3 separate regions of the Homo sapiens genome follow, and regions 1 and 2 are each linked to region 3. The links are contacts of gene promoters, found by promoter capture Hi-C in human tissues and cell types (Jung and others, 2019). All regions are on one chromosome and are shown on one strand. The core of a region is centred on a gene start or on the middle of the fragment in contact, and the rest is flanking DNA. Distances in the headings are between cores, read along the strand shown. Region 1 overlaps LINC01839 (long intergenic non-protein coding RNA 1839). Region 2 has its middle 31 kb from the start of LINC01839. Region 3 holds the start of THPO (thrombopoietin).

Evidence for each region. The method cuts DNA at HindIII sites, captures the fragments that hold promoters and counts their contacts. A contact is called where the count stands out against the background at its distance.
Region 1: a fragment that was not itself captured here is called in contact with the fragment with the promoter of THPO in region 3 in 6 of the 25 tissues and cell types used here (H1 embryonic stem cells, IMR-90 fibroblasts, aorta and 3 more).
Region 2: a fragment that was not itself captured here is called in contact with the fragment with the promoter of THPO in region 3 in 2 of the 25 tissues and cell types used here (mesendoderm cells and spleen).

Annotation. Positions count from the first base shown.
Region 1 is chr3:184,482,756-184,486,398 of GRCh38, reverse strand. All of the region lies in intron 1 of LINC01839 (long intergenic non-protein coding RNA 1839), which reads right to left. Among named protein-coding and RNA genes, the nearest start is that of LINC01839, 8.7 kb to the right of the region's middle. The HindIII fragment of the contact is 8,326 bases long and covers 1-3,643 here.
Region 2 is chr3:184,442,729-184,446,416 of GRCh38, reverse strand. No RefSeq gene overlaps it. Among named protein-coding and RNA genes, the nearest start is that of LINC01839, 31 kb to the left of the region's middle. The HindIII fragment of the contact is 3,261 bases long and covers 87-3,347 here.
Region 3 is chr3:184,376,732-184,380,587 of GRCh38, reverse strand. THPO (thrombopoietin) reads left to right here and starts at 2,381. Exons shown (of 6, transcript NM_000460.4): 1 at 2,381-2,513. It overlaps CHRD (chordin), which reads right to left and starts at 534. Exons shown (of 23, transcript NM_003741.4): 1 at 122-534. The coding sequence starts at 269. The HindIII fragment of the contact is 16,052 bases long and covers 1-3,856 here.

The sequences.
Region 1 (3,643 bases), core at 1,011-3,510, 110 kb before region 3:
TATTATATAATATTATGTATTCTATAATACATAATATAATTATATATGATATTATATATTATTATATACACATAATATTATATTCTATATGTATATGTTATATATAATATAAAGGAAAATACTATATCTCTCTCCCCAGGAATACTATGCAGCCATAAAAAAGAACAAAATCATGTTCTTTGCAGCAACATTGATGCAGCTGGAGGTCATTATCCTAAGCAAATGAATGCAGGAACAGAAAAACAAGTACCATATGTTCTCACTTATAAGTGAGAGTTAAACATTGGGTAATCATGGAGATAAAGATGGTAATAATAGACACTGGGGACCACTGAGTGGGGAGGGAGAGAGTGGGGCAAGGTTGAAAAACTGTTGGGTACTATGCTCAGTAGCTGCGTGTCGGGATCATTGTTACCCCAGACCTCAGCATTGTACAATATACCCTGGTAACAGACCTGCACATGTACCCACTGAATCGAAAATAAAAGTTGAAAAGTAATGAATAAAAATGAAATAAAATAACGTAATTGGGACTTGCTCAGTTGGATATATGGATAATTGTATATAATATGCTTCAATATTTTTACCTTTGTGCCTTTTTTTGATAGTACAAGCCTCCTGAAAGACATTTTTTTAAATCAACATTGAAAGAATGCAACTGTACATTTTACGTGATGAAGTTTTGGACCCTGTTTATTTCATTGTGGTCTAGGGTTATTTTATTTCATCAGGTGGTGGAGAATAAAGGCTAAGTTGGAAGAAGAAACTGTAAAATAAGAGACTACAAGAGGTCTCAGAGAGGTTAAGCCTTCAAAGGCAGATCATTGCAACACTGAAAATCTTGAAAAACAACAAGGAATTCAAAATAAATAAAATAACATACAATTTTCACAAAATGTTTGTCTTCTCAACGTGCTAAACATCTGGTGCTAATTTTTTTAATGGCCTACAAACCCATGTTGCCAAGAAATTCTAGTTGAGGCTCAATCTGTGGCACGTACAATATAATGACAATGGGAAAGGGAATTACTTTTTTCTGTGAAATACATTCCAAGGGTTTTGGATGCTGTCAGTGCCTTTGTATACATTGCCAGTAATTTTGAAAATAAATTTTCACTGTGGCTTTTTTCATTTCTTAACCTTATCCATGTGAACAGGAGAGCTTCCTCGTTCCACTGGGAGATCTTATCCACTAGTAACGAAAATGTGCTCCACTGGTCTCATTACACAGCTGATATTCACCAGTTTCACCATCTCATTGATTTTTCTTACAACAGTATCATCAGAATTCAGTGAAGAAAAAAATTTCAGTTGGATTTTTTCCTATCATTCTAATAACCTATAAACCACTGGTAATTTGAGTTTTTTCTATAATATTATACTGCTTACCATATTCTGCAATCATTTATATTATGCTGAAAGAATTAGCAACAACTTTACCTTCTACTCAGAGATTTTTCTTTAACATTCCGTGGCTATTCTAGTTTCAAACTTCTTTAAATCTCAGAAGTATGATATGCTGCCAACTTTATAAATGTATTTCTTTATACAATCTTTATTTTCTGTCTTCTTGTGGTCACTGTTTATTTTAAAAGAAGTGTAGAGTAGGCATATTGACAACTCTCCACATGTGGGAAGATATAAAAACCAAGTTTTTAACATTCAGCTGAATAATACTCACCCTTTTCCTCCATATTTGACATTTTGCCATAGAGGCTAAATCAGTATATTCCTGTGTAGAGGTAGTAGCCATGAAGAGGACAGTTACAATGGACACTAATTAGATGATGCCAATAATATAAGCAGGATCGCCATCCGTGACTTTTCAAAATGGTGAACTCTTGACAAATTTTCAAATAAAGCACTGCGCCGTATTTCCTTGATGTATGCATTTGATGCTTCCTAGGAAATTTAGTACTTACTAAACCTTGACAAAAAAAACCCACTTTGTATTCACTTATAAAATGGAATTCGTTCTAGGCTCAAATAATTAGAAGCAGGTTTTTCACCTATATAATTCTAGGTTCAGTTAGATTTTAAATTGGATTGTCATAAATAGGTTTGTTGTATTTATTTATTTATTTATTTATTTATTATTTTTTGAGACAGAGTCTTGCTCTGTCACCCAGGCTAGAGTGCAGTGGCAAGATCTCAGTCACTGCAACCTCCACCCCCCAGGTTCAAGCGATTCTCCTGCCTCAGCCTCCCGAGTAGCTAGGGCTATAGGCACACACCACCATTCTCAACTAATTTTTGTATGTTTAGTAGAGACGGGGTTTTGCCTAGGCTGGTCTCAAACTCCTGACCTCCAGTGATCTACCCACCTCAGCCTCTCAAAGTGCTGAAATTACCAGCGTGAGCCACCATGTCCGGTCAGGTTTGTTGTATTAAAAGTCCTGAGGAACCAGGAGCGGTGGCTCACACCTATAATCCCAGCACTTTGGAAAGCAGAGGCGGGCAGATCTCTTGAGGTCTGGAGTTTGAGGCCAGACTGACCAACAGGGCGAAACCCCGTCTCTACTAAAAATATGAAAATTAGCAGGGCATCGTGGCGCCTACCTGTAATCTCAGCTACTCAGAAGGCTGAGGTGAGAGAATCACTTGAACCCGGGAGGCGGAGTTTGCAGTGAGCTGAGATCGCGCCATTGCACTCCAGCCTGGGTGACAGAGCGAGATTCCGTCTCAAAATAAATAAATAAATAAAATATAAATAAAAGTCCTGAGGGACACACGAGAAATCTTTGTTGTACTAGTCTGACCCAACTAAATGCCAGCAGTAACCCCTGTTCATGATGACAAAAGAAAAAGCCATGCAAATCTCCAAAATACCTCTGGGAGCAGTACCATCCTGCAGAGAACCATTAATTTTTATAAAGATGCAATCACACTCTGTAGTTTACAATCTGAGTTATACCTGATTTACATAAAAATACAGTCACATAGAAGTGATCAGAGTTGTTTTAAGGCCTTTATGAGGCTCAGACCCTTTTACTTCTGGAAGCCCTACCCCAATTATATCAAGCATATTAAAATGCACCTTCATCCTAATAAATATAATAATAGCCAGGCTTGTTATGTGCCAGACACCATTTTAAGTACTTTACAATAACTATTTGAAGTACGCACTATTATTATTCCCATTTTACAGATAAGGAAAAAGGCACAGAGAGGTTCAGTGACTTGCCCAGAACCACACAGTGGTGGAGCCAAAATATAAAGCTTAGAACTCTGACACCAACATACTACAGCCTATATAACTCTTGTAGAGTTTACATCTAAGGATAAAGTATCATTTATGAGTTTGTCGCATTGGAGATGACTTCGCCTTCATCAATTTTAATTGTAGAGTTTTTATTTTGTATTTTGAGTCAATCATTTAATTTGAGGTGTGAAACATTATCTTAAGGCCCTTGAAAGGCCCGTGGCCCCCAGTACCATTACCTGTAAGAGCATTGCCTGAGATTCTCCACGCACATTCAATCCAGCACCTTCATGCCTCGGGGAGACCCACGGAGGCACTCACTTTATCTCTCTGTCTATTTTTTAATGTGTGCGTGTGTATGTGCGTGCGTGTGTGTGTGTGCGCGGACCAAAATGATGACGATGGCCAGCTTTTAGAGCACCGTGATTCATGCAAACATTA
Region 2 (3,688 bases), core at 468-2,967, 66 kb before region 3:
ATCATGCCACTGCACTGTAGCTTGGGTGGCAGAGAAAGACTGTCTCTTAAAAACAAAACAAGGCTGGGCACGGTGGCTCACGCCTGTAATCCCAGCACTTTGGGAGGCCAAGGCAGATGGATCACTTGAGGTCAGGAGTTCAAGATCAGCCTGGCTAACATGGCAAAACCTTGTCGCTACTAAAAATACAAAAATTAGCCGGGTGTGCTGGCGGACGCCAGTAATCCCAGCTACTCGGGAGGCTGAGGCAGGAGAATTGCTTAAACTCAGGAGGCGGAGGTTGCAGTGAGCCGAGATTGTGCCATTGCACTCCAGCCTGGGTGACAGATGAGACTCCGTCTCAAAATAAAATAAATAAAATAAAATAAAATAAAATAAAGTAAAACAATGGCCTGGCACGGTGACTCACGCCTGTAATCCCAGCACTTTGGGAGGCCAAGGTGGGCGGATCACGAGGTCAAGAGATCGAGACCATCCTGGCCAACATGGTGAAACCCCATCTCTACTAAAAATACAAAAAAAAAAAAAAAAAAATTAGCCGGGCGTGGTGGCGGGCACCTGTAGTCCCAGCTACTCGGGAGGCTGAGGCAGGAGAATTGCTTGAACCCGAGGGGAGGAGGTTGCAGTGAGCTGAGATTGTGCCACTGCACTACAGCCTGGTGACAGAGTGAGACTCCGTATCAAAAAAATAAAATAAAATAATAAAATTAAATTAAAATTAAAAATTAAAAACAAACAAAACTAACTTTGTCACTTCACCCCTGAGGGAAAATTGGGAGAGGGTGGCATATGGCTTTTCTACAGTCCAGCAGCAGATTCTAGGCAAGGGGAGGAGCCAAGGCCCTTAGCAGAGGCCTGAGCCTGAGCAGACAGGGCACCAGCAAGGAGTCGCCAGCAGCAGGGCTGCAGAGCACTCTCAAAAGCAGGACTGTCTAACGCTAAAATGGCTTGCCTTGGGTGACCAAAAAAATCCAACCTTATCAATAAAATCTTCACTGCATTTCAGCCTGGGCAACAGAGGAAGACCTTATCTCAAAAAATTAAAAAAATAAAGTCTGCTTCTAAACCAGCCGTGTTGCATGAGCGATTCTGGAAGAACACATAGAAAAGGCTCGTATCTGGGTTGGTGGGAGCAAAGGGAAAGAATCACCATGAAATGTGGGAGGTAAATGACCTCAGCAGTGCTGAAGATGCAGGAACTCATCAGACGGCTCCTGAGAACATCCACCCCAGAGTTCATGGATATTTTCAGAAAGCCTCTGGGCTTCTCCCAGAATGAGGAGAGAAAAGTGTCCATAAACGATGATGGTAGCTGATGTATAAAATGAAATAGAGCTACAGCAAACTACGTAGAAATATGCATCCCTTGGTGCAATTGGGAGGCAGGCCACCTCTTCCACTGGCTTGAACCTGCTTGTGTGAGATGGAAAAGCACAACGTTTAGAAGTCTGGAGAAGGAAAGAGAAGGGAGGAGATGCTGGCCATCGATGTAGGGAAAGTATCACAAAGTAAAATTCCCACTAGTGAAGCTGCTACAATTCCATGAAAGAGTCTGTGGTCAGAAATGCTGTTATCAAACAAACAAAAATAAATAAATGAACGAAGTGCTGTTATCAGAGATCAGAAAGCTTCATAATGCGTAGAGAGGTTTTCCAGCTGGGCGCGGTGGCTCATGCCTGTAATCCCAGCACTTTAGGAGGCCGAGGGGGGCGGATCACAAGATCAAGAGATCAAGACCAGCCTGGCCAACATGGTGAAACCCCGTCTCCACTAAAAATACAAAAATTGGTTGGGCGCGGTGGCTCATGCCTGTAATCCCAGCACTTTGGGAGGCTGAGGCGGGTGGATCATGAGGTCAGGAGATCAAGACCATCCTGGCTAACATAGTGAAACCCCATCTCTACTAAAAATACAAAAAATTAGCCGGGCGTGGTGGTGGGCACCTGTGGTCCCAGCTACTAGGAAGGCTGAGGCAGGAGAATGGCGTGAACCTGGGAGGCGGAGGTTGCAGTGAGCCTAGATTGCGCCACTGCACTCCAGCCTGGGTGACAGAGCAAGACTCCATCTCAAAAAAAAAAAAAAAAAAAAATTAGCTCGGCGTGGTGGCATGCACCTATAGTTCCAGCTACTTGGGAGGCTGAGACAGGAGAATCACTTGAACCCAGGAGGCAGAGGTTGCAGTGAGCTGAGATCTCGCCACTGCACTCCAGCCTGGCAACAGAGTGAGACTCTGTCTCAGAAAAAAAAAAAAAAAAAAAAAAAAGAGAGAGATGTTTTCCAGGATGGTAGACAAGGTGATCTGTAATTTGAAGATAGCTCTGAATATCACCTAAATAAGTAATGTTCCTGAGCAGGAAAAACAGGCCCTTCAAGCTGGGTAGCAAGCAGGTAAGAGAAGGGGAATGTGGAAAGGAACGGGGAGCAGGCAGAGGCCTGGTGTACCCATCCTGGAGAGGCAGGCTCCAGATGTTGGAGGGCAAAAGATGCCTCGTTCTCCTCTAGCAGCGTCGCAGCTGGATCCAGACCAGTTCCAGTTTGTCCTCCCAGAAGAGCAGGGGTCCATCTGGGGACAGGCCCAGCCCCTCTCCTTCTGACATGTCCCCCAGGTGGCTCTGGAGGTCTAAATCAGACAAGCTTTCAGGAACCCTATTGGCAAACACATCCCTGCACCTGCTGACCAAAGACCAAAAGGTGAACAGACAGGGCAAGAGGGAGAGACAGCACATGGGTTTCCCAGCCAGTCTTCTGGAAAGGCAGATTTACACAGGTCTATCCTGTTGACCATCGATGGCCCTGTGGGCAAAGAGTGGTGCATAGAGAGGAATCTTTTTTCCACACATCTATGCTTTCAACCAGCTCAGCAGGAATGTGCCCACACAGACATGTGACTCACACCAGCAGGTTTCTCATGTATTTTTGAGACTTAAAATAATGCTAACTTCAGACCAGGCGTGGTGGCTCGCGCTTTTAATCCCAGCACTTTGAGAGGCCGAGGTGGGTGGATCGTCTGACGTCCGGAGTTTGAGACCAGCCTGGCCAACATGGTGAAACTCCGTCTCTACTAAAAATACAAAAATTAGCTGGGCGTGGTGGCACAGGCCTGTAATCACAACTACCCAGGAAGCAAAGGCTTGAACCAGGAGGTGGAGGTTGCAGTGAGCCAAGATCGCGCCACTGCACTCCAGCCTGGGTGACAGAGTGAGACTGCATCTCAAAAAAAATAAATAAATAAAAATAAATGCTAACTTCAATAGAAAAGAACTTCATTCTCAAATGTTAGAATTGAGAGTTTGCTTCATTGTGCTATTTTCATGGAGGAAAAAAATAATATTTATTCATTTTTTTCTGATCATGAAAGCAATGAAAGTTTATTGGATAAACAGCTGGAAACTCAGAAATATAGTAACAATAACACTAAAGGACGGGCGCAGTGGCTCATGCCTGTAATCCCAGCTCTTTGGGAGGCCAAGGTGGATGGATCACTTGAGGCCAGGAGTTCGAGACCAGCCTGGCCAACATGATGAAGCACCGTCTCTACCAAAAATACAAAAATTAGCTGGGCGTGGTGGTGGGTGCCTGTGGTTCTAGTTACTTGGGAGGCTGAGGCACGAGAATTGCTTGAACGTGGGAGGTGGAAGTTGCAGTGAGCCAAGATCGTGTCACTGCACTCTAGCCTGGGCAACAGAGT
Region 3 (3,856 bases), core at 1,132-3,631:
CCGCCCACCCTCCGGGCCGCCCGCCGCGCCGAGCCACCTGCGCCCCGCGCCCCCTCCGGGCTGGCGCTGACTCGCCCCGAGCCCGACTCCCCGCCCGCGCCTCCCCCGGGCGCCCACCTACCTGCCGCTCCCCGAACGGGCAGCGGCTCCTTCTCAGAACGGATGGGCAGCACGGGGGGCTCTGGGCCGGCGCCGCGGGCCGGCCGGGAGCCGAGCAGCAGCAGCCCGAGGAGCAGCAGCGGGGCCGGCGGGGCCGGGAGGCTCGGCATGACGCGAACGGGACAGCTGGGGAGGAGGGAGGGAGGAGGGCGCGGGAGCGGGCGGAGGGAGGGAGGCGGGAGTGCGGAGGGCGGAGGGCCGGGCCGGGGGCGGTGCGGCGGGAGGGGGCCGGGGCCGGGGCCGGGGCCGGGGCAGTGCCGCGAGGGGCTCGTCGGGCGGCCGCAGAGTCGGCGCCGGGCCGGGCGGGGCGGGAGGAGCGGCCGGGAGGAGCGCGGGCGGGCGGGCGCTGACCCGGGCCGTACGCGGCTCTACTGCCCCGGGCGCCGGCTCCGGCCCGTTTTATGCCCCGCGCCCGACGCCCCGGCCGGGGGCCTCCTCCTCAGCAAACGGGGCGGCGGCGGCAGCTCGGCGAGGGGCCGGGCTGAGCCCGGGGGGTCCGACCCAGCAGCAGCGGCCCGGATCGCGGGTGGGGGAGGGGAGGGAGGGGCTGGGACCGGGCAGGGGAGGAGGGAGGGGCGGGAGGGGAAGGGGGAGCGGGGGAGGGGGAGGGGAGGGACCAGGGGGCGCGAAGAGGGGGAGGAGAGGCGGGCCCGGAGCCCCCCGCTGCTGGCGGCCACAGGGCGGCTGGACCAGGAGGTCGGTGTCCAGCCCAGGAAGGGAGCCTCAGGCTAGGGAGGGGCAGAGGCTAGGCCTGAGGCCTGGACCGCTCTGTGAGCGAGGACCCGGTTCCGCCCGAAGGATGAAGACTTGTCTTTAAAGATGACAACGTACAGGAAAGGTCCATCAGCCGATCTCCCCCTGCCTGGGCCCACAGCGCCCCCCAAACCCTCACCACCCTCTCTCACTGCCTAGCCTGCCTCCCTACCTTCTCTCTGAGGTCGCTCCTCATTCTTGTGTTACCCAGGACAGGGACCTAGCCAGAAACCGGCAGCATTCCCCCTTCTGTGGAGTGACAGTATCTCCCTCTCATTGTAACTTATCCTCAGGCGCATTCGACAGTCCCCTCTTGCTTTCTCACCCCCTTCCTTCACCCAAGGGACCCTCTGCCTCTCCAGCCCACTCCCAGCCTCCTTTCTCTTGGTTCCCTGGTCATGCCTGCCTCCCTGTCTCCTGTCTCTCCCTCCCACACACACCCACTATCCTCCCAGCTATCCCAGCACCCTCCTTCCTAATCTTGGGAGACATCTCGTCTGGCTGGACGGGAAAATTCCAGGATCTAGGCCACACTTCTCAGCAGACATGCCCATCCTTGGGGAGGAGGAACAGGAGAGAGCCTGAGGAAGTTCTGGGGGACAGGGGGATGATGGGATCAAGGTCAGGCCAGGAAGCCCCTGAGGACAGAGACTGTGGGGAGACTGGGACTGGGAAGAAAGCAAAGGAGCTAGAGCCAGGGCCAAAGGAAAAGGGGGGCCAGCAGGGAGGTATTTGCGGGGGAGGTCCAGCAGCTGTCTTTCCTAAGACAGGGACACATGGGCCTGGTTATTCCTCTTGTCACATGTGGAACGGTAGGAGATGGAAGACGGAGACAGAACAAGCAAAGGAGGGCCCTGGGCACAGAGGTCTGTGTGTGTAGCCATCTAAGCCACTGGACCCCAGCAGACGAGCACCTAAGCTCAGGCTTAACCCAGTGCACGTGTGCGCACATACATGTGCCCCGCACCTGACAGTCCACTCAACCCGTCCAAACCCTTTCCCCATAACACCAACCCATAACAGGAGATTTCTCTCATGTGGGCAATATCCGTGTTCCCACTTCGAAAGGGGGAATGACAAGATAGGACTCCCTAGGGGATTACAGAAAGAAAAGCAGGAAAGCAAGCATCCTGTTGGATTTCAGCAGCAGGTATGATGTCCAGGGAAAAGAAATTTGGATAGCCAGGGAGTGAAAACCCCACCAATCTTAAACAAGACCTCTGTGCTTCTTCCCCAGCAACACAAATGTCCTGCCAGATTCCTCCTGGAAAAAAACTTCTGCTCCTGTCCCCCTCCAGGTCCCAGGTTGCCCATGTCCAGGAAAAGATGGATCCCCCTATCCAAATCTTCTCCGTGGTGTGTGTGGGTGGAGGAGTGGACCCTGGTCCAGGCAGGGGCTCCAGGGAAGAGAAGGCGTCACTTCCGGGGGCCTTCACCAGTGTCTGGTGGCTCCCTTCTCTGATTGGGCAGAAGTGGCCCAGGCAGGCGTATGACCTGCTGCTGTGGAGGGGCTGTGCCCCACCGCCACATGTCTTCCTACCCATCTGCTCCCCAGAGGGCTGCCTGCTGTGCACTTGGGTCCTGGAGCCCTTCTCCACCCGGTGAGTGGCCAGCAGGGTGTGGGGTTATGTGAGGGTAGAAAGGACAGCAAAGAGAAATGGGCTCCCAGCTGGGGGAGGGGCAGGCAAACTGGAACCTACAGGCACTGACCTTTGTCGAGAAGAGTGTAGCCTTCCCAGAATGGGAGGAGCAGGGCAGAGCAGGGGTAGGGGGTGGGGTGCTGGTTTCTGAGGGACTGATCACTTACTTGGTGGAATACAGCACAGCCCTGGCTGGCCCTAAGGAAAGGGGACATGAGCCCAGGGAGAAAATAAGAGAGGGAGCTGCACTTAGGGCTTAGCAAACACAGTAGTAAGATGGACACAGCCCCAATCCCCATTCTTAGCTGGTCATTCCTCGTTAGCTTAAGGTTCTGAATCTGGTGCTGGGGAAGCTGGGCCAGGCAAGCCAGGGCGCAAGGAGAGGGTAATGGGAGGAGGGCCCACTCATGTTGACAGACCTACAGGAAATCCCAATATTGAATCAGGTGCAAGCCTCTTTGCACAACTTGTGAAAGGAGGAGGAAGCCATGTGGGGGGTCCTGTGAAGGAACCGGAAGGGGTTCTGCCAAGGGGGCAGGGAGGCAGGTGTGAGCTATGAGACAGATATGTTAGTGGGCGCCTAAGACAAGGTAAGCCCCTAAGGTGGGCATCACCCAGCAGGTGCCCGTTCCTGGGCAGCTGGTCTCAGGAAGGAAGTCCCAGAACTGTTAGCCCATCTCTTGGCCTCAGATAATGGAGTATTTCAGGACTTGGAGTCCAGAGAAAAGCTCCAGTGGCTTTATGTGTGGGGGTAGATAGGGAAAGAATAGAGGTTAATTTCTCCCATACCGCCTTTTAATCCTGACCTCTAGTGGTCCCAGTTACAGCTTTGTGCAGTTCCCCTCCCCAGCCCCACTCCCCACCGCAGAAGTTACCCCTCAACATATTGCGCCCGTTTGCCAGTTCCTCACCCAGGCCCTGCATCCCATTTTCCACTCTCTTCTCCAGGCTGAAGCCACAATACTTTCCTTCTCTATCCCCATCCCAGATTTTCTCTGACCTAACAACCAAGGTTGCTCAGAATTTAAGGCTAATTAAGATATGTGTGTATACATATCATGTCCTGCTGCTCTCAGCAGGGGTAGGTGGCACCAAATCCATGTCCGATTCACTGAGGAGTCCTGACAAAAAGGAGACACCATATGCTTTCTTGCTTTCTTTCTTTCTTTCTTTCTTTCTTTTTTTTTTTTGAGACGGAGTTTCACTCTTATTGCCCAGGCTGGAGTGCAATGGTGCGATCTCGGCTCACCACAACCTCCGCCTCCCAGGTACAAGCGATTCTCCTGTCTCAGCCTCCCAAGTAG